4 separate regions of the Homo sapiens genome follow, and all the other regions are linked to region 1. The links are contacts of gene promoters, found by promoter capture Hi-C in blood cells and fetal thymus (Javierre and others, 2016). All regions are on one chromosome and are shown on one strand. Each heading gives the region's core, a stretch centred on a gene start or on the middle of the fragment in contact. The rest is flanking DNA. Distances are from core to core; before and after follow the strand shown.

Evidence for each region. The method cuts DNA at HindIII sites, captures the fragments that hold promoters and counts their contacts. A CHiCAGO score of 5 or more calls a contact.
Region 2: a fragment that was not itself captured here is called in contact with the fragment with the promoter of CIT in region 1 in 1 of 17 cell types (endothelial precursors); the score reaches 5.8 in endothelial precursors.
Region 3: a fragment that was not itself captured here is called in contact with the fragment with the promoter of CIT in region 1 in 2 of 17 cell types (M1 macrophages and M0 macrophages); the score reaches 6.6 in M1 macrophages.
Region 4: a fragment that was not itself captured here is called in contact with the fragment with the promoter of CIT in region 1 in 1 of 17 cell types (M2 macrophages); the score reaches 5.3 in M2 macrophages.

Annotation. Positions count from the first base shown.
Region 1 is chr12:119,872,802-119,880,801 of GRCh38, reverse strand. It overlaps CIT (citron rho-interacting serine/threonine kinase), which reads left to right and starts at 3,482. Exons shown (of 48, transcript NM_001206999.2): 1 at 3,482-3,553; 2 at 4,621-4,729. The coding sequence starts at 4,634. RefSeq lists a silencer at 3,723-3,802 and an enhancer at 4,033-4,092. The HindIII fragment of the contact is 6,661 bases long and covers 417-7,077 here.
Region 2 is chr12:119,658,681-119,666,680 of GRCh38, reverse strand. The region is part of intron 1 of PRKAB1-AS1 (PRKAB1, TMEM233 and CCDC60 antisense RNA 1); the gene reads left to right. Among named protein-coding and RNA genes, the nearest start is that of PRKAB1-AS1, 5.4 kb to the left of the region's middle. RefSeq lists a cis regulatory region at 899-916 and an enhancer at 836-980. The HindIII fragment of the contact is 1,101 bases long and covers 2,960-4,060 here.
Region 3 is chr12:119,678,861-119,686,860 of GRCh38, reverse strand. It overlaps LOC124903033 (a long non-coding RNA gene), which reads left to right and starts at 1,375. Exons shown (of 2, transcript XR_007063485.1): 1 at 1,375-1,539. It overlaps PRKAB1 (protein kinase AMP-activated non-catalytic subunit beta 1), which reads right to left. Exons shown (of 7, transcript NM_006253.5): 6 at 6,860-6,928; 7 at 5,242-6,613. The coding sequence ends at 6,536. It overlaps CIT (citron rho-interacting serine/threonine kinase), which reads left to right. Exons shown (of 48, transcript NM_001206999.2): 48 at 1-1,070. RefSeq lists enhancers at 4,500-4,629, 4,800-4,859, 6,455-7,654. The HindIII fragment of the contact is 854 bases long and covers 3,454-4,307 here.
Region 4 is chr12:119,698,901-119,706,900 of GRCh38, reverse strand. CIT (citron rho-interacting serine/threonine kinase) reads left to right here. Exons shown (of 48, transcript NM_001206999.2): 41 at 2,446-2,538; 42 at 4,943-5,051; 43 at 5,149-5,277; 44 at 6,076-6,156. Among named protein-coding and RNA genes, the nearest start is that of MIR1178, 11 kb to the left of the region's middle. The HindIII fragment of the contact is 172 bases long and covers 4,655-4,826 here.

The DNA.
Region 1 (8,000 bases), core at 2,233-4,732:
ATCTCCAAGGATGGGGCCCAGGTATCAATGTTATTTTAAAGCTTCCCAGGTGATCTCAGTGTGAATGCAAGGTTGTGAACCACTGCTTCTGGAATACCTGCACCATGAGAAGGTATAATAAATGGTGTGTGTAGAATCAGAAGGCAATTCATTTGTAAATTCAGTACACTTCTATTGAGAGCCTGCAAAGTTGATTGTTGGTAGGCTGGAAAGAAGTAATTAAATTGTAATCAAATGCACATGGAGTTAGATTTCATCATTTAGTCCACAAATATTTATAAATATTATGTGCTAGGTGCTGGGATAAACATAAGTCAATACAGTTTGGTGGTTATCAAAATGGGCTTTAGAATGAAAGAACCAACTGATGTCCTGGCTCCACTGTTTACTAGTATGTGACTTAATTTCTCTAAGCTTGAATTTCTCTGCTGGTAAAATGGGGTTGCTAACAATAATGCCTACTTCAGAGGCTTGCTTAAGAATTATGTCAAATGATGCAGTGTTTCCCAAATTTCAAGATTTGTTCTAAAGCTATACCCATGTACAACCTGTACTACTGTTTACTTAATATTTCCTTTACTGGCTCATTTTTTCTTCTTAAATATTTCCTTTGGTCTCACTCCAAGTGGTATCATCTATAAAATACTTGGTTGGATGGGCTAGCTATAGTTTTTCTAACATATAGTAAAATATATAATTTAACAAATAAGTGACTTTTTTTGCCACTTGAAAGTGTTGCTCATACCAGTTGTGGGGACACATCTTTGGGAAACAGGGAATATCTGGGATATTTGCCTCTGAGCCAGCGTGAGAGTGGCTCCTTTCCATAGGGGTGGATGCTAATAATAGTGCCTACTTCAGGGGCTATTGAAGGCTTGCACCTAGAAACCTAGAAAGCACTCAGCCAATGATAATTATTCTTTTTTTTTTTTACCGAGTCTCACTGTCTCACCCAGGCTGGAGTGCAGTGGCAAGTGAGATCTCAGCTCACTGCAACCTCCGCCTCCCAGGTTCGAGTGATTCTCCTGCTTTACCCTCCTGAGTAGCTGGGATTACAGGCACCTGCCACCTCGCCAGGCTAATTTGTATTTTTAGTAGAGATGGGGTTTTACCACATTGGCCAGTCTGGTCTCAAATTTCTGACCTCAAGTGATCCACCAATCTTGGCCTCCCAAAGTGTTGGGATTACAGGCATGAGCCATTGGGTCTGGCCAGTTATTTTCTTTATATAGAAGTTTCTGGGCTGGGCGCAGTTGCTCACACCTGTAATCCCAGCACTTTGGGAGGTCGGGGCAGGATGATTGCTTGAGTACAGGAATTTGAGATCAGCTTGGGTAGCATAGGGAGACCCCATCTCTACAAAAAAAAAAACCCAAAAAAACAAAAAAACAGCCAGGCATGGTGGTACATTCTTGTGGTCCCAGCTACTGGAAGGGCTGAGGTGGGATGATCACTTGAGCCTGGAGAGGTGGAAGCTGCAGTAAGCCGTGATTGTGCCACTGAACTCCAGCTTGGGTGACGGAGTGAGATTCTGTCTAAGAAAAAAGAAAAAAAAAGAGGTGCTTGATAAATAGTAGCTATCCATTATTGGCCCCGGGAACAAGAAGTAAGTTATGTTTGGGGAAGGAAAAAAGAACAAATGTGTATTAAGCAAGCCTGTAGCTCTAATTATGTGCTGGTGTGCGTGTGTGTGTGTGTGTGTGTGAGAGAGAGAACACATCTCCAGTTCTGTCTACTGTAGAATTAGGAGAGTACAAAAAGGACTTTACATATATAAATAGAACATACACACACACACATGCGTGCACACATATACACACAATTTAATCATTATGAAACCACATCCATATTGTTGCTACCTAGGTTAAGAAATAGATCACAGCAGCACCCCAACACCCTGAAAGGCCTCCATCCCAACCCCAGGTAACTACTATTCTGGCTGTTGCTTTCTTTATGGTTTTGTCATTACTTTAAACAATGACAAAAACTGCAATGATTTGCATCAACCTAATACATCCCTCCTTAAACAATGTTGCTTTGTTTTGTCCTGTTTTGGAACTTATAAGAATGGAATCATAATGGAATCATATGTTATTTTCTTGCTTCCTTCATTAGGCCTTGTTTTGAGACTCATTATGTCATTGTGGTTAGTTGCAGTTTATTCTTTTTCATTGCTTGTGAAAACACTGCAATATACAATTTTGTCTTTTCTACTGCTGATGGACATTTATATCACTTCCAGTTTTTTGCGAACACTATTTTGTATTCTTATACACATCTCTTGGTGTACATAAGTAGGAGTTTCTCGCCGGCGTGGTGGCTCAGGGCCTGTAATCTCAGCACTTTGGGAGGCCGAGGTGGGCAGATCACTCGAGGTCAGGAGTTCAAGACCAGCCTGGACAACACGGTGAAACCCCATCTCTACTAAAAATACAAACAATTGGGCATGGTGGCATGCACCTGTAATCCCAGTTACTTGGGAGGATGAGACAAGAGAATAGCTTGAACCTGGGAGGTGGAGGTTGCAGTGAGGCGAGATCGTGCCATTGCACTCCAGCCTGGGAGACAGAGCAAGACTCCATCTCAAAATAAATAAATAAATAGGAGTTTTTCTTAGGTAGAGAAACTACACCTAGCAATAGTCATAGAATGCACAAATCTTCAATGTTAGCAAATAATGCCAAACTTTTTTTTCAAATTTCAAAGAGATTGTATCCATTTACACGCCTACGGGTACTGTATAAGTGTGTGTACTTCCACATCTTCGCAAACACTGTCACATCCTTTTGTTGTTGTTGTTCTCGAATTTGAGTGTTATTCTTTCTCACTGTGACTTTATTTTTCATATTTTCTGATTATGAACGAGGTTGACAACTTTCACACATTTGTTGGTCATCTGGATTTCCTTTTTGGTGAAGTGCCTGTTTAAGTATCTCGTCTATAATTTATTTTAAAGTGTCCTTTCAGACAGTCTCAATGACTGTCACCAACTCCTTGCAGGGCAGTCAGCCCGGAGATAGAGTAATCAAGGTAGGTTGAAGTCAAGCTCAAAACATTCGCTGCCTCAGCTGTAGCAGAGGACCACTGGGCTTCCCCAGGTAACAAGTACTTCTACCTTAGCCACATGAGAGAGAAAGAAGACCAGGCAGAGCAGCCTGGCTGCCTTCCTCCTTGCAGGTGGCCGAGAGCAGGGGACAGCGCCCTGGCGACCTCCTCAGGGATCCTAGATTAACAGTCGCGTCCTCAAACGCAGCATCCTGCGTAACCGCCAATTTCAAACTTCCAAGACCTGCCCTGCTGATTTTGCCCTTCCCTTTTTCCCGTTGGTCGCGAGTCAAAGGAAGATGCAATTTGATTGGCTCTCCCCTTCACTTTCCTCCATGCCTTTAGGGACATGGGCGGGGCCTGGCTGAGACGCCCATGTCTATCATAGGAGCGGAGACGCTGATTGGTCCAAACACGGCTGAGACCCGCCCGCGCCGTTCCTCGGGTTCAAACGCGGCGGCGGGAGGCGCGGGGCGGAACAGATCGCAGACCTGGGGGTTCGCAGAGCGTGAGTCTGATCCCCCAGACCCAATTCTACCGCACCCGGCTCTGCAAGGCCAGGGGAGGGCCGCCTCCACCCATACAAGTCCCGGGTTTCCCTCCCGCCCCGGGGAGGGCGGCGATTCCACCCCCAGGGCTGCGGGAGGCCTGGAGGGTCTTCCGGGGCTAGCTGTGCGCGCGCCCACCTTCCTTGGGAGCCGAGGGGTCAGCCGAGTGGTGCTGGGGCAGGAGGCTTGCTCCTCCCCTAAACCAGGCGGAGTGCTTTGTCTCTTCAGCTCTGCCTCCTGTCAGCACTAACTGCATTATTCTGCCCAGTGTAGTCGGCCGGTTCCTTATTATCTGCGTGAACTTAGCCATTTACTTAACCTCTCTGTTTCAGCGTATTCATACCCCGTGCCCACCCCATCACCTCATGATGCCCCCGCCTCTTTCGCTCTGCTCCAGTCCGTCTGGCCTCGCTGTTGCTGGAGAGGCCAGGTCCTGCCTCAGTGCTTTTGGCTTGGCTGTTTCGTTTGCCACGGATGTCTTTCTTTCCCCAGATATCAACATGGCTTGCTGGTCATTCGCTTCAGGTCTTCAAGTCTTGGGTCAAATGGTGGCTTCTCAGTGAAGTCTTATTTGACCACACTAAAAATTGCACCATCTCACCCCCATTGTCCTTTTCTTGCTCGATTTTGTTTTTACCCCATAGCACTTAACACCTTACAACAAGCTATATATTTTGCTTATTTCAGTCATTCATTTAATAACTATTCGCACCTATTTGTGTGCCAGGCTATGTGTGCCCCCACTGCATGGGGGCAAACATCTCTGCCCTTGTGGAGCTTCCATTCTAAGGGGGGAGATAATAAACACATTTATAAGTAAGAGAGTATGTCAGATAAGTGTATCATCTCCTGTCACAGTGAGTTAAAATCTGGTGTTTAATCTCCATGATTAGACTGAGCTTCCTAAAACTGGAGTGGTAGCTGATTTTCACCTCCTTGTCCCTGATATCTTGAGGGAGATCAGGATCTCTCAGGCCCTTCCTGCTCAAAACATAGGACACACTTGACTTTTCTGATATCCTTTCAGCGCCAGTGGGGAGATGTTGAAGTTCAAATATGGAGCGCGGAATCCTTTGGATGCTGGTGCTGCTGAACCCATTGCCAGCCGGGCCTCCAGGCTGAATCTGTTCTTCCAGGTAACAGCCTACCCTGCCAACTTTGCTCACCTGTGTGTGTCCTTGGAATCTCCTTGTCACTCACCTTTGCTTTTATTTATTTGTTTATTTATTTAGAGTCTCAGTCTCTCAGGCTGGAGTACAGTGGTGCAATCTCAGCTCACTGCAACCTCCGCCTCCTGGGTTCAAGCGATTCTCCTGCCTCAGCCTCCAGAGTAGCTGGGACTACAGCCGCCTGCCACCACACCCGGCTAAATTTTGTATTTTTCTTTTTAGTAGAGACGGGGTTTCACCATGTTGGCCAGGCTAGGGTCGAACTCCTGACCTCAAGTGATCCACCTGCCTTGGCCTCCTAAAGTGCTGGGATTACAGGCATGAACCGTGCCCAGCTTGCTTTTATTATAGGACCAGGGATAATATTTTAGGGGAAATTCTGTTTTGTTTTGTTTGAAACAAGGTCTTCTGTCGACTCTAGGCCTGTGCCACCATGCCTGGCTAATTTTTTAATTTTTTGTAGGGATGGGGTCTCACTGTGTTGCCCAGGCTGATATAGAACACCTGACTTCAAGTGAGCCTCTTGCCTTGGCCTCCCAAAGCACTGGGGTTATAGGTGTGAGCCACTGCACCTGGCCCTCTATTTAGAGTTTTATATGCACTGATTCTTTTGGAAAAAAGACACTGTGCAGAAGTAGATAGCTGAACTTGCCTTAGAAGGGAGATCTTTTCATATTTCTCACACTTTACACTTCTGTACTAAAGTTTATTCATTCATTGATTGATTGGTTGCTTGCAAGACAGGGTCTTGCTCTGTGGCTCAGGCTGGAGTGCATTGGCACAATCACGGCTTACTGCAGCCTTGACCTCCTGGGCTCAAACGATCCTCCCACTTCAGCTTCCTGAGTAGCTGGGACCACAGGTGTGTGCCACCATACCTGGCTAATTTTTGTATTTTTTGTAGAGATGAGGTTTCACCATGTTGCCCAGGCAGGTCTCGAATTCCTGGGCTCAAGTGATCTACTTGTCACAGCTTCTGCAAGTGTTGGGCTTACAGGCATAAGCCCCTGTACCAGGGCAAGTTTGTCCTTTTATTGAAGAAAGAAAAATAAATGAACAAAGATGCTTTTTAAAACTACAATTTCTGTGGGTATAATCCTATTCATTTTCATTGCAGGGATGTTTATTTTTTAAGATTTTTTTTTTTTTTTTTTGAGACAGAGTCTTCGCTGTCGCCCAGGCTGGAGTGCAGTGGCGCGATCTCGGCTCACTGCAGGCTCTGCCCCCCGGGGTTCACGCCATTCTCCTGCCTCAGCCTCCCACGTAGCTGGGACTACAGGCGCCCGTCACCTCGCCCGGCTAATTTTTTGTATTTTTAGTAGAGACGGGGTTTCACTGTGTTAGTCAGGATGGTATTTTTTAAGATTTTAAAAAAAGTTTTGATGAATACCACACCTGTTTAACCCTCATTCCTCTCAAGATACACATTTCTGTCACCCCAGATGCGTTAAAACTTAATATCATAAGATTACTTCCAAATAGATTTTTAATTCTTTTGTTTCTGATGTATGTGGAACACTGGTGAAGTAGAAATCCTTGTTTGATTTATGTATTCGTAAGTCAGGGGGACAATAGAGACCATGAAGATTTAGAATTGAATCCCAGTCCCAGCACTAGTTAGCTGCATTACTTTGGGTGAGTCAGTTACCTTTTCTGAGTCCATTTGCTATTCTTTAAAATAGGTTGTAGCCTGTAATGCCAGTATTTTCGGAGGCTGAGGCGGGCGGATTACTTGAGGTCACGGGTTCGAGACCAGCCTGGACAACGTGGTGAAACCCTGTCTCTACTAAAAATATAGAAAATTAGCTGGGCATGGTGGTCGCATGTACCTGTAATCCCAGCTACTTGAAAAGCTGAAGCAGGAGAATCATTTGAACCCGGGAGGCGGAGGTTGTCGTGAGCCGAGATGGTGCACTGCACTCCAGCCTGGGCGACAGAGTGGGTAAGACTCCATCTCAAAACAAAACAAAACAAAAGAAAACAAAAAAAATAACATAGAGGTTGTAGTACCTAATCCACAGGGTTGTTGTGAGGATTAGATGAGATATTCGATTTAAAGCACTTAGCACCTTGCCTGGCTCTTAGTAAACTCCTTATAAAAAATGGTAATTATTGTTAATACTCAGCATAGAATAGTATTAGTTATAATATTAATACTAAATTTGTTTCCTTAATAGTAATTATATTTGGGAAGGTAGTTATGTAGGATACCTGTAAGATGATGAATGATGAAGTATTCTTGATAACTTTTTTTTTTTTCCAAAATATTGGTATTGGGTGTTTAAACAGATGAGAGTGGAAACAAATTGAAAGCTTAGGTTTTTCTGTGGGACCATCCCCATCAGCATTTTAAGTCTTGACATATCTTTCACAAATGAATAGTCTGTCTTTAACCTTAGATGGCTGGAGTGCTGCCACGTTTCAGCCCCTTTATCATGCTACTTTAAAATATCTCCAACTTGCTGGGCGTGGTGGCTCACGCCTGTAATCCTAGCAATTTGGGAGGCTGAGGTGGGTGGATTGCTTGAGGTCAGGAGTTCGAGAGCAGCCCGGGCAACATGGTGAGCCCCTCCGTTTCTACTAAAAACACAAAAAATAGCTGACTGTGATGGTGTGTGCCTGTAGTCCCAGCTACTCGGGAGGCTGAGGCAGGAGGATCACTTGAGCCCTAGAGGCAGAGGTTGCAGTGAGCTAAGATTGTGCCACTGCACTTCAGCACTTCAGCCTAGGCGACAGAGCAAGACCCTGTAAATTAAAAAAAAAAAAAAAAAGAAAAGGAAAAAAATTTCCAACTTATTAAGGGCTTATAGTGTGCTGATTATGTAATAGTTATGGCTTCCAATGTGTCTGGCATAGAACTGGCATGTTTCTGAGTATCTCACTTCAGCCTCATGACAGAGGTAAGGACTATTTTTAATTTAAACTTTAAATAGGAGGCAACAGGCCAGGTGTGGTGGCTCACACCTGTAATCCCAGTACTTTGGGAGGCTGAGGCAGGTGGATTGCTTGAGTCCAAGAGTTCAAGACTAGCCTGGGCAAAATGGTGAAACCCCATCTCTACAAAAAATATAAATAATTAGTCAGGCATGGCGGTGTGTGCCTGTAGTCCCAGCTACTCAGGAGGCTGAGGTGGGGGCATCTCTGGGGCCCCGGAGGCAGAGGTTGTAGTGAGTTGAGATTGCAACACTGCACTCCAGCCTGGGCAACAGAACGAGACCCTGTTTCTAAATAAATACAT
Region 2 (8,000 bases), core at 2,261-4,760, 210 kb after region 1:
GCAACTTTTAAAAAGGGAGAAACCATTTTTAGGTCACTATGGGGAAGTGTCTATGATATTGCAAGGTCCGGAAGCAAGTGAGAGAACAAGTTCAAGGGCAGGAGCTCTGAATTCAGCCTGGCCATGTTCAGATTCTGGCTTTACCATTTAGTAACTGTCACCTTAGTCTCTTCTTTTGTGAAATGGGAACAAAAATAACACCTACTTCATAGGCTTGTTTTGTGAATTAATTGGGAACGTGCATAAAAATGCTGAGCATAGCACTTGACTCTTAGTAAACACTCAATAACTGTTAACACTTTTATTAGCACTATTAGGCTAGCAAATGGAAAGTTCTGGAAGGGTATACAACACATTGTTAATAGTGGTCTTCTGTGGGGAGAGGAGGGAGATTGCAAATAGGAGCAGACAGAAAAGGGACTTTCACTTTTCATTTATATAGTTCTGTATTTGAAAAGTTTTCTATTGTGAGGATGTACTACTTTTTAATTTAAAAAAATAAGATATGGTTCCAGCCCCAAAGGAATTAATACAGTACAGGCTGGCACCGACCCACAGAAAAGCAATAATATAGCTAGGTAAGGGATCCTGTGGGAGCCCAGAAGGGACTTAAGCCAGGCCAGGAAAAGGGATGGGAGCCAGGAAAAGGGATGGGAGCCAGGAGGGTCTTCCTGAAGCTGATGACTGAGAATTTGAATGTATTCAGTATAATCAGAAATGTTGAATGTGCTTGCTGAATTAAATAAGCTAAGATACTGTGGATGACCCAGGATATCTTCTTTGAGCTGCTTTTCTAATAGTGGCCCTGACTTGGTTACATGAGACAGTGGGGTGTTGAGTTTTGAAATCTCTCCCAAACAGCCGGAGAGATAAGAAAGAACACATGAGCTGTGGATTCTTTATCTGAGCTATGCAGATGCTTTGATGCATGAAGAAAGTTTTAAGACATCTGCACTAGCTTGAATAAGATAACAGTGAAAGCATGGGTGGCCCTTGATGTCAAATACAATCAACAATATCCTGAGGATGCCACCAACTGCTGATTGGAAACTCTTACCACATTGTATCAAGATTTCATGACAAAGAAACTAACATTGGTATCTATCAGCTATTGACCCCATATTGAAAATCATGGGTAGGGTAGACTCGCCAATTACAAGTGTCTACTTGGGTCCCAGCTGTGTCTCTCTTGGGTCATTTTGTGTTACTTATCTGTGTAACAATGGTTTGTGACTTTCCTAAGCATCAGAGCGTCTCATCTTTCTCTGATTCTCTGCTGATATGGATGTCAGACCATTCCATCTTGGGGGCTGGAGGTGTGCCAGGAAGTATAACTGTTAGCACATTGCTGTGTAAAAGGCATCATCTACTCACTGCTGTCTGTCTGGCACCAGGGCAAAGACAAATGATAAATACCCTAGATTCTCCCCCAAACAAACCAGGGCAATTTTAACACAGCCACAGCTAGGAGTACCCCTCCCCCACCCCCGCAACCCTGGCTTCAAATTCACTCCAGCTCCAAGCACAAAAAGAAGTAGGTTTTCAAGTCCTTAAAAGTCACCCAGAGTGAGATAAAATCTCATTTATCCTTAAATTTATGATTAAAAGGGTTAAGGATAATGTTTTGGGGCCTCCTCCATAGGATGGATTAGAATCAGTATAGCACTTCTGAACTGACCAACCCATTTGTTTTATATAAGGAAGAGTCTAAGTCCCAGAGATCGAACAGTTTTGCCTGAGGTCACTCAGATGATCATAGGTCATACTGAGACTGAATTCTGGATCACCTGGCCACTCCCCACTACATCATGGTCATGGCACCTCATCAAAAAGACCTTTGGTTCCCCAGCTGGCCTGTCTACAAACATTTGTACTGTTCTGAAGAACCCTCCCCATCTAAGAACAGCCAGGGCTCTGATCACAAATAACTCAATGGCAATATTGAGTGCCAATTATGAGCCAGGCACTGTTGTAACTCTTGGTTACAACAGTGAACAAAACCAAGTTCTTGCCCTCCAGAGGAAAGAGTCCACACACATATGCACATGTGGTGAGAACAGGCAGTGTTCTCACTAAACATCGGTAGCTGGAGGAAGAAATTTCACATTTGGACTATGCTGTAGACTAAATTGTATCCCCCCAAAATTCATACATTTGCACTCCCACTCCCAATTTTATAATGTTTGGAGGTGGGGCCTTCAAGGGGTAATTAGGGTTAGATGAGCTCATGAGAGTGGGGCCCCCATGATGAGATCAGGGTACTTATGGGAAGAAGAGACGCTGGAGAGCTTGCTCGCATGCTGTCTATTCACGCCCATGCTCAATGGAAAGGCCATGTGATGACAAAGCAAGAAGGCGGCCATCTGCAACTCAGGGAAAGAGCCCTCACCACACATCAACCATCCTGGCACCCTGATTGTATTAGGCCATTCTTGTATTGCTATAAAGAAATATTTGAGGTTGAGTAAGTTATAAAGAAAAGAGGTTTACTTGGCTTATGGTTCTGTAGGCTGTACAGCAAGCATGGCTCTGGGTATCTGCTTGCTTCTGGTGAGGCCTCAGGAAGCCAAGGGGGAGCCGATGTATTGATGTATCACATGGCAAGAGTGGGAGTAAGAAAAAAAGTGGGAGGAGGTGCCGCACGCTTTTAAACAACCAGATCTTGTGAGGGCAGCACCAAGACGATGGTGCTACACTATTCATGAGAAGTCCACCTCCATGATGCAGTCACCTCCCACCATGTTGGAGGCCTCACCTCCAACATGGGATTACATTTCAGTGTAAGATTTAGGGGGAAAAGTATCCAAATTATATCACTGATATTAGACTTCCAGCTTTCGGACCTGGGAGAAGTAAATCTCTGTTGTTTAAGCCACCCAGTTGATGATTTGTTATAGCAGTCTGAGCTGACTAAGACAGACTCAAATGTGTGTGGGCTGCTAGGATAGAATTACAAGCTTACTTTTAGGGCTTAACCAGATTTCCACCAGGCCTTCTGAATTTTGCCTAGCCAATGTAAGTAACACTGCCAATGTTTGAGAAACTTGTCCATCTTTTCTTGCTAGACATTCTTGTGTTCTCTTTGCACTGAGATGTGAATATTGTGACAGAGAGTCATCAACATAGAATTAAAAGAAGTTCATTCTACAGCATTTGGTCTACAACCTTAATTGGCAAATAGCCTCATTTTGTGACTTTTAGGTTGTCTGAGAAAATTCTGTTTCTTGACCTGGGTTGGTAATTATTAACATGTTTGCCTTGTAGTAACTTACTAAGCCATACATTTCTTTTGTGTAGTTTCCTGTATCTTTATTTTATTTTCAATAAAGTTTTTTTTAAATAAATAGCTTCACTCACAGGGTAAGCTGAAACCTAGAAGGGAGAAGTGCCCAGTTCAAGGTAACACAATGTTCTTAATAAAGTTCACCTCAAGTCTATCCTCTTTTTTTTTTTTTTTGAGATGGAGTTTCACTCTTTTCACTCAGGCTGGAGTGCAGTGGTGCAATGTCGGCTCACTGCAACCTCCGTCTCCCGGGTTCAAGCGATTCTTCTGCCTCAGCCTCCCAAGTAGCTGGGACCACAGGCGCACCCCACCACGCCTGGCTACTTTTTGTATTTTTAGTAGAGACGGGGTTTCACCATGTTGGCCAGGCTGGTCTCAAACTCCTGACCTCAGGTGATCCACCCTCCTCGGCCTCCCAAAGTGCTGGGATTACAGGTGTGAGCCACTGCACCTGGCATCTCTATCCTCTTTTAAGAGCTTTGAAGGAATGGAGGAGAAAAGGATGTACACTTTCTACCCCTTTTCTAGAGGACAAGTGACAAACTAAAGCAGTATCCAGGCAAAGATCCAACGGAGGTGAAAACAATGAGAGGAAGTCTGTCTCTGTCTCATCTCTTTAAAATGTAAGCTCCCAGGGATTTGAATATCAAAGTTTCATAATCACTTTAACATATGCTGTTGGGACCATCATACCCCATCTGCATGTGCCCTTCTGCGCATGCCCCAAACTTCCTAACTGTGAGCAGGTGCAACTCTGAGGGCCTTCTGGAGAAAGCTTTGTCGACACAAGTGGGAACCCAAGGGGACCAGAGAAGACACCCTGAGAGAAGCCCTCAGCCAACCACAGAGGAGCCAGTTCCCTTGCCCCTTGGATGTGCTAACTCTAATGAAGCAGCGTCATTTTTCTGGGGTAACACCCGAGGTTCGATGTCTCATGCTAAGGAAATTGAAGACATGGCCATGCAAGGAGTGGGTTTAAGAGTGGAAAGTTAAATAGATGAAAGAAGGAAGAGAGCTTCCTCATGCAGAAGAAGGGGTCCTGAGTGGGTTTCCCTGGTTTGGGGCAAGGTGTGGTTGGTTTTAGGGATGAGCGTGAGGAGATGGTATATGATTTACATGGGGTGTAGTGGATTGGTTGGACCAGATGTGCCATTTTCATAGCCCGTGAAGAGGCTGGTCATCCCACTCTAATCTTTTATTATGCAAATGGAATTTTAAAAAACCTGGCTGGTGCCATGTTATCTGCACACGTGGCAACAAAGAAAAGGGAAGAGGGAACCTCCATGTTGAATATACCTGGTTTCCAGCTATCTGTTTTCTATTGGCACAGCTGCTGGTATTTACCTATGCAAGCCTCTAGCTTGCTTATCTATGCTTGCAGCTTGATTTTTCAGGCTGCTTTTTGTTAAAAAAAGAAATGATTTGGAGACTGCGTTTTTATTAAAAGAAAAACCTTACTGAGGACTCTCTTACCCTCACTAACTGTCTAAATAATTTCTTTTTAGCTCTCGTATAACTAAGATATATTCCCTACCGTGTCTCAGAGGTCCCCAGTGGAAATGCACCCTAGATGTCCACAGCAGTAATTGGATCAAGGAATTCATTGATTATCTTCCTTTCCTTTTCTTTATCTCTTTTTAGGAGCACCTTCCAAATAAATACTCAGAAACACCTCCCAAGACACACTAATTGCATGAAAATCCTAGTTCAACCACATAGGTTACAGATGAGGAGGGACAATAGCTTGCTGAATTATAGAAAAAGTTAGTGGTCATAGATCATAATTTGGATCTTATGTCTTGGTTTCTGGTCCAGGGTACTGTGAGATTATCATTCTTCTTGATATGATGAACCATGGAGACTTTTAAAAAACAGGGATCGGCAGCATTATCATAATAGACAGAAGGTGGAAAGAATCCAAATGTCCACCAAGAGATGAGTTTGTAGGCTGGCACAGTGGCTCATACCTGTAATCCTAGCACTTTGGGAGGCCGAGGTGGGTAGATCAACTTGGGGCCAGGAGTTCGAGACCGGCCTGGCTAACATGGTGAAACTCCATCTGTACTAAAAATACAAAAAATTAGCTGGTTGTAGTGGCGCACACCTGTAATCCCAGTTTATTGGGAGGCTGAGGCATGAGACTTGCTTCAGCCTGGGAGGCGAAGGTTGCAGTGAGCTGAGATTGTGCCACTGCACCCCAGCCTGGGCGACAGAGAAAGACTCTGTAACAACAATAACAAAATGAATTATAAACAAATTGTGGTATGTTCATACAGTGGAATATTCTTCTATCACAAAAAGGAATAAAGTACTGTTACATGTTACAATGTGGATGACCTCAAAAATATTAACATTATGCTAAGTGAAATAAGCCAGACACAAAAGGTCATATATTATATGATTCCATTTATATGAAATATACAGAATAGATATATCCATGTCAATAGAAAGCAGACTGGTGGTGACCACGGGCTTGGCGGAAGAGGGAATGAGGGCTTTCTTTTGGAATGATGAAAATGTTTTAAGACTTGGCATAGATGGTGGTTCCACAACATTGTCAATGTACTAAATGCCTATGAATTGTTCACTTAAAAATGTCTACTTTAAAATTAACATTTATGTTGTATGAATTTTACCTCAAAGAAAATAGGGTTAGTCCTAGAACAAATGGTAGAGGTGTACAGTTTATCTTTTTTCCAATTTATTTTCTGCAACTGTCTTACAAAATAAACCTCTCCGCACCCTGTCCTTCCCTGTAAGTGTCTCATGACTCATGTCATCTAGCCCATCAGAACCTAACTAGTTCATGGCACTTGTTCTAGTTAATATTGATTTTTTCAGAGGCCTTCAGTTTTCTAATTGCATTAATTCATTTCTTTATCAATAACTTTTTCATGGCAAAAACTCCTATCCACCGGGCACTGTGGTAGACACTGGGGAGAGAATTGTGGGCAAAATCAAACCCAGGCTCTGTCCTGAGTGTTTACGATCTAGTAGGGAAGAGAGAAATTAATCGAACAATCATCCAACAGTCTTCTGTGACAAACGCTAAGAAGGAGAAGTGTGACCTAGTGAGAAGGATGTGACCAAGTCCTGAGGTCAGAGGAGGCTTGCTGAAGGAAGTGACAATCAAGTTGAGATTTGGAGATTGTAGGTGTTAAAGTGAAAGTTGTTTATCAATCCTTATTATGCACTCGGCATTGTGTTTGATGTATGAACTCATGTAATGCCACCAACAGTCCTTTGAGGGATCTACTATTATTACCACTTGCATTTTTCAGGAGAAAATGAGGCTCAGAGAGATGAAGTGACTTATTCGAGGTCACACAACTAGAAAGTCATGAAACCAGCATTCAAATGCAGGCAACCAGACAGATGTCAACATTTTAGCCACCACGGACAGATCATTGAGTGAGGGATGAAATCATTTTGGGTGGGCCAATGGATTGGGCTGATCTAGATTATAAGTATAAAGCTGGAATGGTCATTCAGAGAGGGAGAACAAACTAGGTGTTCAATTGTTTTAATATCTATTAAATTTTCTAGGCTAGATGCAGTGGCTCTCAGCAGCTTGGGAGGCCGAGGCGGGAGGATAGCTTGAGTCCGGGAGTTTAAGACCAGCCTGAGCAAGCTGTCGAGACCCCATCTTTATTATATTTTAAAAAATAAAAATTAAAAAAATAAAAAATTTTCTAACTACGAATCCATGTTTGTTTTTTCTTTTCTTTTTTTTCAAAAGAGCATCAATTTCCCAACCATGTTTCTTATTGTTACAAAACTCAATAAAAATCTGAAAGTTGGAAGCCATGACTTGCTGGGTGTAACGTACTAATCAAGAAGGTGGAATCAATTATTAAATAGTCAATAGGGTTAACAGCAATGAGTGATCATGGCAGGCAATGCCCCTAGCATCCCCTAGGTGGCAATAAAGAGCAACAAAGATTATTCCTATGGCCTTTCAAAAAATTAAATGTATGTATTTTAAAGTATGGATGAACATGGTTAAAAACTTCAAGCAGTATGGGAGGGGGTACAGAATCAAAAACAAAAGTCTCCCTTACACCTTCTCCTACATCATTAATTCCTTTCCCCTCAAATAACTTGTTGAGAGTTTCTTGTATACTTTTTGGGGGTATATTTTGTTACAATTATTATAATTATAATTTCCTATAATTATAACTATAGAAAAAGTACTTACATCGCTCTTCTTTAAAAATGCAAGCAATTAGTACTTTTTTTCCTTAGCATATCTTTCCATATCAGCATATACAGCTCCACCTCATTTTAAAATTTTAATTAAAAAAATTTTTAAGTAAAAAAAAAATTTCTTAAAAGAGACAGGGTCTTGCTATGCTGCCAGGCTGGAGTGCAGAGGCTAGTCACAGGTGCAATCATGGCTCACTGCAGCCTCAAAGTCCTGGGCTCAAGTGATCCTCCTGCCTCAGCCTCCTGAGTAGCTGGGACTACAGTTGTGTGTCACCATGTCCCGCCACCTCAGTTTTGTAATGACTGCAGATTTCATAACAAGAAGAGGTCTATGTATAGAGTGCTTACTGTACACCTGCCACTGTCCTAAGCACTTTCCTTGCTTTAAGCCATGTACTTCTTATAAAGCTTTAAGAGGTGCATTTTGTTATTATCCCCACTTTACATAAGAAAAAACTAAGGCACAAGTGGAGAAGTAACTTGTCCAATGGCACAAAGCTAGTAAGTGGTG
Region 3 (8,000 bases), core at 2,631-5,130, 190 kb after region 1:
CAGGGTTGGGAAGTCCTTAGGTGCAGTGCGGCTCCCACTGGGTCTGCGGACCCTCCTATTAGAGTACGAAATTCCTGGCAACTGGTACAGAACCAACCTAGAGGCTTTGCAGTTGGCAAGCTAACTCGCGGCCTTATTTCTGCCTTTAATCTCCCACAAGGCATCTGTTGCTTTGGGTCCTCCACGACTCTTAGGCCCGCCTCAACAACCCAGGCACCTCCTAGGTAGGCTCAAAGGTAGACCCGTTTCCACCGCAGCAGGTGAACATGACCGTGTTTTCAACTGTGTCCACAGTTCAGATCCCTTTCCAGATTGCAACCTGGCCTGCATCCCAGCTCCTTCCTGCTCGTGTCTTAACCTAAGTGCTTTCTTGTTTGAAACGCCTACAAACCTCCATGTGGTAGCTCCTTTGGCAAATGTCCTGCTGTGGCGTTTTATGTGTTGCTTGGAGTCTGTGGGGTCGTACTCCCTCCCCTCCCGTCCCCAGGGCAGATTTGATTGAATGTTTGCTGAAGTTTTGTCTCTTGGTCCACAGTATTTGGAAAGGTCACTGAAAATGGGTCTTTCAGTCTTGGCATTTCATTTAGGATCTCCATGAGAAATGGGCTTCTTGAGCCCTGAAAATGTATATTGTGTGTCTCATCTGTGAACTGCTTTCTGCTATATAGAACTAGCTCAAAAGACTGTACATATTTACAAGAAACTTTATATTCGTAAAAAAAAAAAGAGGAAATTGAATTGGTTTCTACTTTTTTATTGTAAAAGGTGCATTTTTCAACACTTACTTTTGGTTTCAATGGTGGTAGTTGTGGACAGCCATCTTCACTGGAGGGTGGGGAGCTCCGTGTGACCACCAAGATGCCAGCAGGATATACCGTAACACGAAATTGCTGTCAAAAGCTTATTAGCATCAATCAAGATTCTAGGTCTCCAAAAGTACAGGCTTTTTCTTCATTACCTTTTTTATTCAGAACGAGGAAGAGAACACAAGGAATGATTCAAGATCCACCTTGAGAGGAATGAACTTTGTTGTTGAACAATTAGTGAAATAAAGCAATGATCTAAACTAATGTGTGCTTTAGTGCAATGACCTCTTCTTTTTTTGAGAGACTGTGAAAGAAAAACTATCACCAGCGTGTCAGTGTAGGTGTATTATCATGGATGGGACCTTCTTTACGTTGTGGGGAGGGTTTTCCTCTGGAGTGGGATAGAGGAAGCCACGTGGTGGTTAGGGCACACTGCTATCCTGGAATTAAGCGATTGGTGACATTCTCTGCCAAGAGTTTGACTGTGGAAATTTGGTCAATACTTCCAGTGAACCATGAACTGGCTATTAAGGTCATTTTATAGGACTGCAGAGCTGGAAAGCTCTTCAAGCAGTCACACAGGACATTTGGAAAGGATTACTGAAGAATGGATTACCCAGTTCTATAATCAGCTAACCAGGAACAGGTCAGCTCAAGATATCTTTCATCTATTAAAAGGCCAACTACAATTTAATAATGTAGATTTCTTTGTAGAGAAGAATTCAAATCAAAGGTAATTAAAAATGAAAATACTTCCATTTTTAAGTAGAGGAACTTTTACAGTCTGCAAGATAAATTTTTTCTCATTCTTTAGTTTGTTAGTATAAACTTGCTCGATCCAGACAAACGGGTTTTGGCAAATGGTGATGTTTTTGTTTTCATGGTTCCTGTGGGTTGTAGTCTTTGAATTTTTATTTTCTAATGAAGTCGTCTGACCACGGTCAAAATTGGACTCGCAGAGTCGTATCTGTCTTTGTTGCTTGTGATGGGAACCACAGATGCAATTCTGTTCTTTTCGATGTTACTGTTGGGCATGAAAATCTGCCACAAGGTCGTAGTTGTAAGAATGAAAATAATTCAGAAGATGAAGTGGTGAAATGTGAACCTTTCTTTCCTTGTAGCATTAGAAAAACATCTGTTAAATATCAACCAAGCATTTCAGTGATTGTCTAGAGGATTGTGGGAGGTCACAGAAAACTTCCAAAGCTAAGTCAACATAGTTTGGTTTCAAAAGGAAGTGCCAAGGAAGAGTGTTTGAACCCTAAGGAATAGCCCGAAAGAAACAACCAACCAATTCCACAGCCACACCGTAAAATGAGGCCTAACTCTTCATGCTGGCCACTCCTGTTTCATAAGCACAAAATTAGATGTCATGTTTTCTGCGCTTACAACTTAATTGTCACCGGACTAAAGAGGTTGATTGCATAGCAAATTCCATAACCATGGAACTTTAGGATTTGGAGGGTTAGGCCAAAAGAGAATTTGCTTAATAGGACTGTCTTCAGAATTGGACCTCTTGAATGTGATTTGCTATAGAAAGCATTCGTGGGGGCCAGCTCAGATTCCATTCTCAGAATACAGTGGTTACACTGGCTTGTTCCACTGGTTCTAAGCCATGGGGAGATTTTGCTTCCCTCCTCCCAGAGGACATTTGACAATGTCTGGAGACATTTTTGGTTGTCACAACTCGGGAGTACTACTGGTATCCAATGGGTGGAGGTCAGAGATGCTGCTCAACATCCTACAAGGCAAAGGACAGCCCCCCACTGTAAAGCATTATCTGGCCCAAAGCCTCAATAGTGCCAAGGTTGAGAAACCGTGGTCTGTTCTAGTTTTAGTCCCATGTCTTCCTTGGCAATTTAAATACTGCTAATGATGTCTAAAGCATGTAGACCGTGGCTCTAGGCCTACAGTGTTAAATGAGAAAAATAGTTTCTTATTTGCCCACTCAAATGCTGAAGCTGTTTCCTGAAGCTGGGGAGGGTGGGGGTAGTGGAAATAGAGTCCAGTGTTGATCACTTTGTTTTCCCTTGAGTCTGTTAATGATGAACGGAACTCTATTTGCCCTAGAGAGATTGTTAGAGGTAGATGAAAGAACCTTGAAAATGACTTTATTACTCTGCATAAGTCAGGCTGTCTTTCAGAGAGCCACAAAAAAGGAAACAAAAAATCGACCAAGGGTATACACATCTTGGCCTGTTCTCACTGGCCACTGAGTATTTCAGATGGGATGGGTGAATTCTTTTAGGGGGAGGTAGCAGTAAGAGCTGGCATCCTCATCTGGGGAAAGGCTCTTTAGTTGTATGAAAGACAAGACGACAATGTAGTTGTGGGAGCCCACCCTGAGGGCAGAGCCTGGTGGCTCGTTCTAGAGCCAGTGGCTGGGGTCCCAGAGACGGGGCTCCGGCTGCTGCTCCAGCTTTTGGGATCTTCTCCAAATGTCTGACTCACTATAGTGACGATGACTCTTAGGAGGATCCTGTGGATGTTTTTACAATTAATAGGGATGACTGGGGTTTTAGAAGAAATGTATACGTATCTACAACTTCCATGTTTTCTCCTGAAGACAATTATAGTTGGCATACCAGGGCAGAAGGCTCTAGTTTGTTTCTCCACTAATTTGCTGGCCAAGATGAGTGCTGAAGCTTTTATTCCTCAGAAACTTTATGATTTGATGAGTGGTCCATGTCTTGGGTCTTCATCAATTCATTCAAACCATTTGTAAACATTGGTGGATGTCTTAGCCCATTTAGTGCTGCTTTAACAAAATACCTGAGAATGGGTAATTTATAAAGAACAAAAATTCATTCTCTCACAGTTCTGGAGGCTGGGAAGTCCAAGATTAAGGCATGGGCAGGTTTGCTTGTCTAGTGAGGGCTACTCTCTGCTTCCCAGATGGCGCCTTGTGCTTGGGTCCTCTGCAGGGGAGAAAAGCTGTGTGTCCTCACATGGCAGAAGGTGCCAGGGCACATGAGCTGAATGCTGCCTGAAGCCTCTTTGATAAGAACCTCAATTTCATTCATGAGAGGAGGGGCTCTCATGACCTAATCTCTTCTTAAAGGCCCTACCTCTTAATACTATCACATTGGGGACATTTGAATTTTGAAGGTGACACAATAGCAGAGGAGGATCAGATATGGGAAGTAAATGCTTGAAAGTGAAACTGTGCTCATACAAAAGGAACTGAATTAAAATGAAATTTTGTTCTTTCCTAGACTGGCTCGTTCAGTCTCTGACCTCAGCCACAGATCGTATCATGATGTTCCAGGTTTTTTCTCTCAGTCTTTTAGGAGCCTTGGAGATTTCCTAATTGAGCTAGCTGAGGTGCAGGCACAATTTTCTTGTCTGGCCTTTTGACTTCCTGTTTGTGGCCTTAGCCCTGCAATACTGATTTACATTTTAGTAATTTTTTAGGCTTTAATTTGGCTCTATAAATTCATCTGTATATCAGCTTCTAGAGGGAAAAATGTATCTTCATTGAAAAGCAATTTGAGTTAAGCTTTAACTAAGTCCTCACCCATAAAGGAAATGCTAATGAAGAAAGGATTACTTGGTCATAGGACACGATTTGACATATGGCTTTGCCCCTGTGATTTGGGCAAAACAAGGTCTCCTTTTCCACCTTTGTAAAATCACCATTAACCTTTAGCTTCTTGGGTATGGAGGCTTTCACTTGGTGGGCAGGCTTTCCGACTATAATGTGCTTTTTAAAGAAAATGAAATCCTTTGAATACGCACAGAGATGTGTTGTCTCTGACCATGTCCTCTTGTTTTGTGTCTCCTCCATCATCTCAGCAGTGACCTCACCTGGAAGTCCCCTGTGGCCCCAGGGCTTGGAGAACTCATGGGGTGACTGGCTCCAGTAAACCAGTCTTATTTTACATAGCATTTTCAGCTTGGGTTTTCTGCACCAGTGGGTAGAGCTCATTAGCATGCTTTTCTGCTAAATTTAAAATGTTTCCTGATACCTGAGAAGGCTTAAAGGAACACCCATAACCTTCCACCTTTTTGGAGGAGGGACACGGCCTCTTTTAGTGGATGAAAACAGCTCTGACTCCACAACGTCCTGCTCTCTCACACGCCAGGGTCACGATCCCAGGCTGTCCCACCGGGCTTGTTTAGGAGCAAAAGGAAACAAACCCTCTGGCCTGGGGACACCAACAACTGGCCGAAGCCAGGAGCCTCTGCTGTTACCCCTCTTCAGCTTCCCCTTGTGACTTGAGCTGTTCAGAGGGGCTCAGTTTTAGGGGTCCCTTAAGGTTCCAAACTGTGTGAATGGGTGTGAGTCACAGGACTGGTTCTCAGGCCTGGGCAGCTGGAGTAGCCCTGTCCGCTCAGAGCCACAAGAACGGTACTGAAACGCAACTCTCGAAGAGTTCCAGTCTCTTCTCCAAGGGACTGAATAAAATCAGAGCTCCTCCAGGCACATGTCCAATTATTTTTACAAAGTTTTATTGAAACTTGTCCATCAAGGTGACAGTAATTCACTGTTTTGAAAAGTCACAAAAAAGGGTACCCCCAAACTCAGGTATACCAAGTAAATACTGGAACCCAGGGAGCTCACTCCTCCCTCTCCCACCAGGAGCAAAGGGCATAACGGGAGCTTCCGCTGACTCACAGCAACCTGGGCTAGTGGGTACATCTGTGGCGACTCCCGGGAAACTGAGCTGCGTATAAAGAAGTCTGCTTTGGTCCAAAGGACATCTTCCTGACCCAGACTCAGAAGGCTGCTGTCAAGTTCTACATTCCTTTCAGAATAAGCAACAGCAACTGCTGCAGTCTTGCTAACTAGGGGCAGAGGTCCTGAGCAAGGTGCCACGGGACCTTGTAAAATCACGCTGTGTGATTTTATAGGGAAGAGGGCAGAGTGCCTCTCAAGTTTTCACGGTTAACACTGTCACCTATTATGACTGGAATAAAAAGCTGGACAACCTGCCAGCTAACTGGTCAGTCCTGAGGATCATCCAGCTGAATGGAGAAATCCGGCAGCAGGTTGAAAAGTCTGTTCTGAGAACAGATTATTGCTGAGCAGAGTTCATGTGACTTCTAGACGTGGTGACTTAAAAAATGGCCTTAAGGCTGCAGAGCCAGCCACCTCTGCTTACAAAAAGAGTACTTAGTGCACATGACTGTAAGAAACAATTGTAAAACCTCATCTAGAAATCAGAAAGCTTCTAATTTCTATAGAAATGACACCTCCCTGGAGCCGAGAGACAATCTGTTGTTGATTTTGAAGGACAGGCAAGACCAACACTGTATTTAGTTCCATAGCCAGGCCTCAACAGGGACAAGTGGCTGGCCTTAAAAACACACAGATGACTGGAAATGATGTGTGGCCTCAGTCCCTGTTTCCCAGAATTTTACTGGCAAAGGAGTTAGCATTCATTTTTGGCTTAAGAAAAATCGAGAATGTAGGTTTAGAACTGCACCCAGCCTCATGCACCGCGGGGCCAGGGCTGCAGATCCTCTGCCACCCCTCCCTCTTTTCTTGGACTTGATGAGTCCCCGAGGCTCAAAGCCATGGGGGTGCTAGGAGGACTGTCACAGACCGAGGCGCTGCAGGAGCTGCTCTGCCTGGACAAACCTTCAAGCAGGACCAGGGCAGGTATGAAATGTCTTCTGAAGAGTGTGAAATGAGCAATGTACAGTCCATTCCCTCTTGGGGAAAGCATGCACGTGTGGAGCCTGGTGGTGTGCTGTCTCCTGGGCCACCATCCGCCCCCAGCTCTTCATATGGGCTTGTATAACAAGGTGGTGACGTACTTCTTCTTGTACCGGTGGGTTGCGCTGAGCACCATCACTCCATCCTAAGGAACAAGGTGGAAATGATCAAAGGCTGGACTAAGGGGCTCAAGCCTCAGAGGACATGAGAATCATTAAGGGCTTCATAAAACCACAAATTCCCGGGCCAGCTTCAGAACCTGAGCCTGATGGCCTGTGCCAGACCCTGGAAGCTGCCCTTTAAGTCAGTCCCGCCAGGTCATTCCACTGCTGGGGGTCCTCAGAGCACACACTGGGCAACACAGCTCTCATGGGGACAGACATGTCATTACCTTGATAGACAGCGCGTATAGGTGGTTCAGCATGACGTGATTGGGCTCAGGAAGCAAAGCTGGATCACACTGTGAGGGAACAAAGGCAGCGGTGAGCATTTGGGATTTGGAAACCAAGATTCTCCCCTTTACTTCCCAGTGCCAGATATCAAAGGACAGGAGGCAGCGCTCAGGCCGACCTCTCTTCCCAAATCAGGCAGCGCAAGGGCTTGTCCAAGACGACAGGTGAGATGAAGGTCACGCCTTCTGACCTGAAGGGAGCTCCCTGCATGCCTGCTGGAGGCATCGGTGTGTGTCTCTGGCCAGGCATTTACCCCGGCCTCTTTCAAGTGTGGGCCACGGCCCTGTCCTCTTATGGAGGGTGGGGCAGGAAGAAAGCAGCTATTAACAGCACTTTCAGAGAACACAGGAAGAGACCATCTGCACTAAACGCTCCTGAGCAATGGATTCAAAACTTGTATCTGTAAGACTCAATGAACCTGAAGAATGAAACGGATACCTGGGCAAGACACCACTACTCTGGAAAATCTGCCACCGGGCTGGCACTCAGAGCTGCCCGCCGCACCTTCCTATGTTTTAAGAGAAGCCAGAAATCGGGATTTATTTTTTCATTGTATACCCCCAACTGTTATAAATGCAATTCAAATGGAAAAAAGTGTAGAACAACTGCTGTAGGCTTAGGATCCCAGAGGCTGGGCCAATCATTGTGTCAACAAATACTCAGCAAGCTCCCGCTGGGAGGCCATTCAGGGTGGCTGCTGAGAGCACCAACTACCAAGGATCTGGCACCAGCCAAGCCTGATGTGACTGCTGGCTCAGCCAGTTGCTGTGTGAGCCTAAGAGGGGTTTTTAAAAAATTAATCAATTTCAAAGATTGACAGATAAAATTATGTATATTTACCATGTACAATATGTTGTTTTGAAATATGGACACATTGTGGAATGGCTAAATCAAGCTCATCAACACACGCAGAACATGCTTACCATGTTTTTGTGGTGAGAACACTTAAAAGCTACTTTTAGTGCACTGCTGATGGGCATGTAAATTAGTACAACCATTATGGAAAATGGCATGAAGGTTCCTAAAAAGTTATAACTAAAATTACCACATGGTCTAGCAATCCCACTACAGGGTAGATAC
Region 4 (8,000 bases), core at 3,491-5,990, 180 kb after region 1:
GTGGGAGTATAAATTAGTTCAACCATTGTGGAAGACAGTGTGGGGATCCTCAAAGACCTAAAAATGGAAATACCATTCAACCCAGCAATCCCATTACTGGGTATATACCCAAAGGAATATAAATCATTCTATTATAAAGTCACATGCATGTGTATGTTCATTGCAGCCTACTCATAATAGCAAAGACATGGAATCCACCTAAATGCCCATCAATGGTAGACTGGATAAAGAAAATGTGGTACATATACACCATGGAATATTATGCAGCTCTAAAAAAGAATGAGATCATGTCCTTTGCAGGAACATGGATGGAGCTGTAGGCCATTATCCTAAGCAAACTAATGCAGGAACAGAAAAACAAATACCACATGTTTTCACTTATAAGTGGGAGCTGAATGATGAGAACACATGGACACATAGAGGGGAACACACACACTGGGGCCCGTCAGAGGGTGGAGGGTGGGAGGAGGGAGGGGATCGGGAAAAATAACTAATGGATACTAGGCTTAATACGCAGGTGATGAAATAACCTGTACAACAAACCCCCATGACATGAGTTTATTGATACAACAAACCTGCACATGTGCCTGTGAACTTAAAAGTTAAAGTAGAAAATAATAAAAAAGAGTGTTTGCGGGTATATATACATGTACATGTATAACTTTAATTAAGTCTGAATCAGGTGTTTATAGACCCCCTGAGGCTACTGGCGTTCTGCTGTTGAAAACCATCGCATTTTGACCCTCAGAAGAGAGCACACTGCACATTTGTTCATTCAGCCGCTCAATCAACATTTTTTTTTTTTTTTTTTGACACAGAGTCTTGCTCTGTCACCCAGGCTGGAGCACAGCGGCACGATCTTGGCTCACTGTAGCCTCTGCCTCCCGGCTTTAAGCGATTCTCCCTCTTCAGCCTCCCAAGTAGCTGGGACTACAGGCACGCACCATCACAGCAGGCCAATTTTTGTATTTTTAGTAGAGACAGGGTTTGACCATGTTGGCCAGGCTAGTCTCGAACTCCTGGCCTCAAGTGATCCACCCACCTTGGCCTCCCAAAGTGCTGGGATTACAGGCATGAGCCACTGCACCTGGCCAAAATTTTTTTTTTTTTTTTTTTTTTTTTTTTTTTTGAGACAGAGTCTCACTCTGTCACCCAGGCTGGAATGCAGTGGTGTGATCTTGGCTCACTGCAGCCTCTGCCTCCCAGGTTCAAGTGATTCTTCTGCCTCAGCCTCCTGAGTAACTGGGATTACAGGCATGCCCACCATGCCCAGCTAATAAAAATTAGTTTTTTAAATTAGAAATTATTTTCATTCTAATATCTGAACTGTTCAAAAAATGTATGGAACATATATGTAAATCATAAAGCCTAATAATGTCGTAAGCATCCACACACTCACTACCCAGTCCAAGAAATAGAACATTGCTAACAATTTCCCTTTTCTTGTGTGTTCCTCCCTTATCCCGGCCCATCTTCATTCTCCCACTGTACCAGCTGCTGACCTTCGTGCCAGGACTAATTTGAGCAGTAAGCCTCATTTGGTGAATGATAAACATCTGGTTGTAGCAGGAGACGTTAAAAGGGTTTCAGCTGTTCTAGAAAAAGAGCGTTTTGATGTAGAACTCTGCACGTGTATGAGTTCTTAGCTAAGAACTTTTCCTTTTGGATTGAAATTTTCTCTAAATGTGGGCCGGGTGTGGTGGTTCACACTTGTAATCCCAGCACTTTGGGAGGCCGAGGCAGGCGGATCACTTGAGGCCAGGAGTTCGAGACCAGCCTGGCCAACATGGCAAAACCCCATCTGTACTTAAAATACAAAAATTGGCCAGGCATGGTGGTGCGCACCTGTGGTCCCAGCTACTTGGGAGGCTGAGGTGGGAGAATGGCTTGAAGCCGGGAGGTGGAGGCTGCAGTGAGCCGAGATCATGCCACTGCACTCCAGCCTGGGCGACAGAGTGAGACTCCGTCTCAGAAGAAAAGAAATTTTCTCTAAATTCGTTTAGCAGTCTCTACCACCTTTCCTCTCCCTTCCCTCATTCTGTCTTCTCCCTCCTCACAAGGGAAGTTTGTCAAAAGATTCTGTCTCCAGCAGAAGGCACATGTGTGGGAAAGGTGTGTGGTGTCAGGTGCCTCCCTGAGGCCTTCTCTGGATCCCAGGTAAAGCCTTGGTTCTCGACCAGGGGTAATTCTGCCTTACCAGGGGACATTTGGTAATGGCTGGAGACATTTTTGATTGTCACACATTGAAGTGCTGCAGGCATCTAGTGGGTCAAGGCCAGGGATACTGCTCATATCCTGCGATGCCCAGGACAGCCCTCCCCCCACCACACAGAATGATCTGGTCTGAATCATCAATGGCGCTGAGCCTGAGAGCTTTTCCTAGTTTTGCCCCACAGCCGGTATCACACTGGTGACAGTCTTTTTCTTTTCTTGGTTGCTTTTCAGATTGAGAACGGGCTCTGCATCTGTGCAGCCATGCCCAGCAAAGTCGTCATTCTCCGCTACAACGAAAACCTCAGCAAATACTGCATCCGGAAAGTAAGTCCTGGGCCTTGCCTTGGTTGAACGTGGGAAAGCCAGTCCTGCTCTCTCAGCGAGCCAGTGTGGAAAGTGCACTGTCCTGGGACACAGCCTGTACTGGGTTCCTTCTACCCTGCGGGCCTTTAGCCTGGGGTGACCTCTGTCGTCAGCGAGATCCTTCCTTTGTGGAGGATTCCCCAGGGCCACTAGTAGCTGCGGTTTCCCTCCTGCTTTTCTTCTCACATTTGCGAACTGCCTCCCCATCCAGCCCAGTGAGTTCAGCCTTTTGTTAGAACAGAAAGTTGACTGATAGGAAAAACCAGTGGAAAAAAAAAAGGGGGGGCTCTTTCTAAGATCCTAGCAGTCCCAGGTAGCACTTATCAGAATCTTTCTCAAATTCTAGAGGTGTCTATTAATATAACCTTCTGCAATAACCAGTGCTAGCAGTATTTTGATATGTAATTAGGGAGCTCCTTCTTTTCGGAGCAGAGTGAGCTGTGATGATGACTGCAATATGGACGAGATGTGTGTTAGATCCTTAAATCTGCCTGGCTTCTGGAGAATGCTGTCTGATGTCCCTACCTCGGAGTGTCCCACTCCTCCTAAGCCTGATATATTTCTGGTGCTTTCATGATTAGTCTCAAAAATGAAATGAGGCTGGGCATGTTGGCTCAGGCCTATAATCCCAGCACTTTGGGAGGCCGAGGAGGGTGGATCACTTGAGGTCAGGAGTTTGAGACCAGCCTGGCCAACATGGTGAAACCCTGTCTCTACTAAAAATACAAAAATTAGCCGGGCATGGTGGCGGGTGCTTGTTATCTCAGCTACGTGGGAGGCAGAGGCAGGAGAATTGCATAAACGTGGGAGGTGGAAGTTGCAGTGAACCGAGATTGCACTACCGCATTCCAGCCTGGGCAACAGAGCAAGACTCCATCTCAAAAAAAAAAAAAAAAAAAAAAGTGAAATGAAGGGTGAATAATATATAAGGGTCATTACCTGTTAGAGAAACTGTTCCATTCTGGGCAGGGTGGTGTTAGTTTAGTTGGTGTGTTCATTGGGTGCCCACCCTGTAAGGGACTGAACTGGCTGTTTTACAAGCACCTTTCACCACAGTTCTGAAAAGCAGAGACAGTTATTCCCAATTTTCAGGTAAGACAACTGAGGCTGGCAGAAAATCCTCAGTTACAAAGTTGAGGCCAGAACTGAAGTTTGATTTTTTTTCCTAGCATTTCACTATATCGTGCTTCCTCAAAGTTTTCCCATACTTAGTAGGTGACCAAGAAATATTCAGTGATGATGATAATGCTCACTAGAATTTGAACTGTTAGCTTCAGGAAAATTCTCAGAAATCATTGCTTCTTTATGATTCCCGGCCACACATTTTGAATAGGTGTGCCTGGTTTTTTGATGACATTAGGATTGGCCTAAAAACAACTAAAAATAATCAGGAAGCAGGTAATTAAGATGACAATAATGATGATCATGATGATGACTGCATAGGTAATATAGGTTCAAACTAGAAACTTAGAAGCTAGCAAAAAGAAGGAAACCAAAACCATTGCTGCTGACCACCACTGTTAATAGTTGTTGTATTTTTCCTGTATTTTTTTTTCCTGTGATAAGAATGTTGTATTGTTCAAGATCTGTCTCTTCATTGGAATGCTGTTTCTTTCTTTTCTTTCTTTTTTTTTTTGAGACAGAGTTTTGCTCTTGTCGCCCAGGCTGTAGTGCAATGGCACTATCTCAGCCCACTGCAACCTCTGCCTCCCGGGTTTGAGCGATTCTCCTGCCTCAGCCTCCTGAGTAACTGGGATCACAGGTGCACACCACCACACCTGGCTAATTTTTTGTATTTTTAGTAGAGACGGGGTTTCACCATGTTGGCTACACTGGTCTCGAACTCCTGACCTCAGGTGATCCACCTGCCTCAGCCTCCCAAAGTGCTGGGATTACAGATGTAAGCTACTGCGCCCAGCCTGGAATGGTGTTTCTGACCCCACCTTTTTTTGGCTGCAGTTTGACCTTGTTTTCTTAGTTTTGGGTTGCATGGAACAATAGGAAGAGAAAACAAATGGATCACTGTTCATCCTGAGAGGCATGAAAGGTGAATGGGGCGTGTGCAGTGGCTCAAGCTTGTAATTCTAATGCTTTGGGAGGCTGAGGTGGGAGGATTGCTTGAGCCCAGCAGTTTGAGGCTGCAGTGAGCTATGATCACACCACTGCACTCTAACCTAGGTGACAGAGCGAGATCTTGTCTCCAAAAAAAAAAAAAGATGAATGGCTCTCTATGACAACGTGAACAAGCTTGGTGACAATGTTCTCCAGGGCTTGGCTAGATGCTGTAGGCAGAAGCAGAACAGCTGTGGACCTTGGCTGCCCTGTGTTACCTCTCACATCCTTCTCTTCTGCTCTCATGTCTCAGGAGATAGAGACCTCAGAGCCCTGCAGCTGTATCCACTTCACCAATTACAGTATCCTCATTGGAACCAATAAATTCTACGAAATCGACATGAAGCAGTACACGCTCGAGGGTAGGACCCACCTCCACTTTCGCACCCACCCATGGCTCAGGCCGCGCTGAGACTCAGAACTCACTCCTGAAGCCCCGCTTCTCGCCTGCCTTTACAGAATTCCTGGATAAGAATGACCATTCCTTGGCACCTGCTGTGTTTGCCGCCTCTTCCAACAGCTTCCCTGTCTCAATCGTGCAGGTGAACAGCGCAGGGCAGCGAGAGGAGTACTTGCTGTGTTTCCACGGTGAGTCGTGGCTGCGCCCACTGCCCTTTTGGGTCCTCATGGACACTAGGGACCCATGAGGGGTTGGAGGAGGGTACATGGAGCTCTGGGGCAGGATAGGTTTGACTAGGGGTACAGAGAATGTCCTTCCAGCACCACCAAGTCCCCTTGGGGATGCTCCTCTCCATCACCAGATACTAGCGTGGTCTAACTTTATCACATTCTCTCCAAAGAGCAGGCAGTTTTTTCCTCATCCATCCCTTGCCTTTCTTTCTCTCCCTTTCCTTTCTCTTACTCTGTCCTCATTTCGTCCTCCCCTCCCTTCCCCTCCCTTTCCATCCTTCTATCTGTCCTTTTCTTTGTTGCATTCTTTCTTTTCTTTCTTTCTTGGGTCCTCCCCTCCCCCTCCCCATCCCCTCCCTCCCCTCCCCCTCCCCATCCCCTCCCTCCCCTCCCCCTTCCCTTCTTTCCTGAGTCTTTCCGTCTTTCCCTGTCTGTCCTCCTTCCTCCGGATCGCTTCATTCCCCTCTCTCTCTGTCTCTTTCTCTTTCCCTCTCCTCCTCTTATTCCTTTCCTTCTTTTCACTTGAGTTCTCTTTCTTTAATAAAATTTAATAAATTAAAATAAATTAAATTTAAAAAGTCCCTCATTTTTAATAAAGCTGAGAGCTGGCTCAGCAGAGGGCCTCTGGTTTTCACAGTCAGTCCCATCTGGCCAGGGGTCCCTGGGCTCTGCTCCTCATTCTTCCATCACCATGTGTGTCGCTGATGCCCCTGCTCTTGGCTGTGCTAATGCCCACGTGCTCTTGACACCTTGCAGAATTTGGAGTGTTCGTGGATTCTTACGGAAGACGTAGCCGCACAGACGATCTCAAGTGGAGTCGCTTACCTTTGGCCTTTGGTACGTGAGGCTCAGTGTGGGGGCTTCTCTTTTGCCAGCAGCTGGTGTCCTGGAAAAGAATTGCATCCGGGTGCGGTGGCTCACGCCTGTAATCCCAACACTTTGGGAGGCCGAGGCGGGTGGATCATGAGGTCAGGAGTTTGAGCCCAGCCTGACCAACATGGCGAAACCCCATTTCTACTAAAAATACAAAAATTAGCCAGGCATGGTGGCATGTGCCTGTAGTCCCAGCTACTCAGGAAGCTGAGGCAGGAGAATTGCTTGAACCCAGGAGGCGGAGGTTGCAGTGAGCTGAGATCACACCACTGCACTCCAGCCTGGGTGACAAAGCGAGACTCTGTCTCAAAAAAACAACAAAAAAAACCGCAATTGCAAGTGGAAATTTTTTTCTTTTTTGGCCTAAGCACTGTGCATGTGAATTCCATTAGATACCAAGTGCCATGTGTAACAGTCACCCGGAGAACTGTTCATGGAAAGATTCTGAGGCTCGATGAAGAGCTGCCTACGCCAGATTCACCAGCCCACAGTCCCAGCCCTGGGAAATATTTGCTAGGCTCTCATGATAGAAAGGAGCCCAATTCCTGTAGATTTATTTCAGTCATTTCCAAAGGCTGCAGAGTGTCCCATGGCATAGCTGAACACCTGTTCACTTAACCAGTTCTAATTAGGCAAAGCAGTAAGGCCATGCCCGTTTTGTTTGTAAGTGTAAACAACACTACGATGAACATCCTTGTACTAATCTTTTTGCACTTGTTAGATAGCACCCCCTGATTATAAGCTCCTAAAAGTGGAACTGTTGGATCAAAGACTAAACACACATACACATACAAGTATGTACATACGTATCTGTGTGAATGTTCTGAAATGCCGTCGTGGCCCAGATACCCTTCGAGGCTATTTTGTTTCTCTCTTGCTGCATAACAAGCCATCTGAAAGCTTAGTGACTTCAAACAACAGCTTATTATTGGCCCCAACTCCGTGGCTTGACTGGACAGTTCTGCTTCATGTGGTATCAGCAGGGCCACTGGGACAACTAGAAAGCCCAAGACAGGCTCACAAACATGGCACGCAATGAGTGCTGGCCATAATGTGGGCGCTTAGCTGCGGCTGGTGGCTGGAGGCCTTGTTGCTTTCCACGCTGGCTTCTTCCAAGAATATAGAAGCGGAAGCTGGCAAGCGTGCTCACTTCCACCACGCTCTACTGGTTAGAGCAGACCGCAGAGTCAGCCCAGATTCAAGGCCAGGGAACTGCACCGGGGCACGCATACCAGAGCCCATGACTTTAAAAGTCTAATACCAAGTCTTGCCACAAGGAATAATAGTGCTTTTTCCCTTTAAGGCAGAAAATATTTCCAGTCCTGTGTGCTCTAGTTTCAGTGACACTGTCATGCAGAGATAGAGTATTAAGAAGACCAGCAATGTCTAAATAGCTGTGAACCCAGTCTTTTTTTTAAAATAGAACCCAGTCTTTTTTTTTTTTTTTTTTTTGAGTCGGATTTTCACTCTTGTTGCCCAGGCTGTAGGGCAATGGCACAATCTCAGCTCACTGCAACCTCTACCTCCCGGGTTCAAGTGATTCTCCTGCCTCAGCCTCCCAAGTAGCTGGGATTACAGGCGCCTGTCACCATACCCGGCTAATTTTTTCTATGTTTAGTAGAGACAGGGTTTCACCATGTTGGCCAGGCTGGTCTTGAACTCCTGATCTCAGGTGATCCACCCGCCTCGGCCTCCCAAAGTGCTGGGATTACAGGCATGAGCCACCGCGCCCAGCCCGAACCTAGTCTTTTTAAAAATTGAATTCTTTGAAGATGTTTACAATCAGTTTTAAAAGGTATACAATGAAA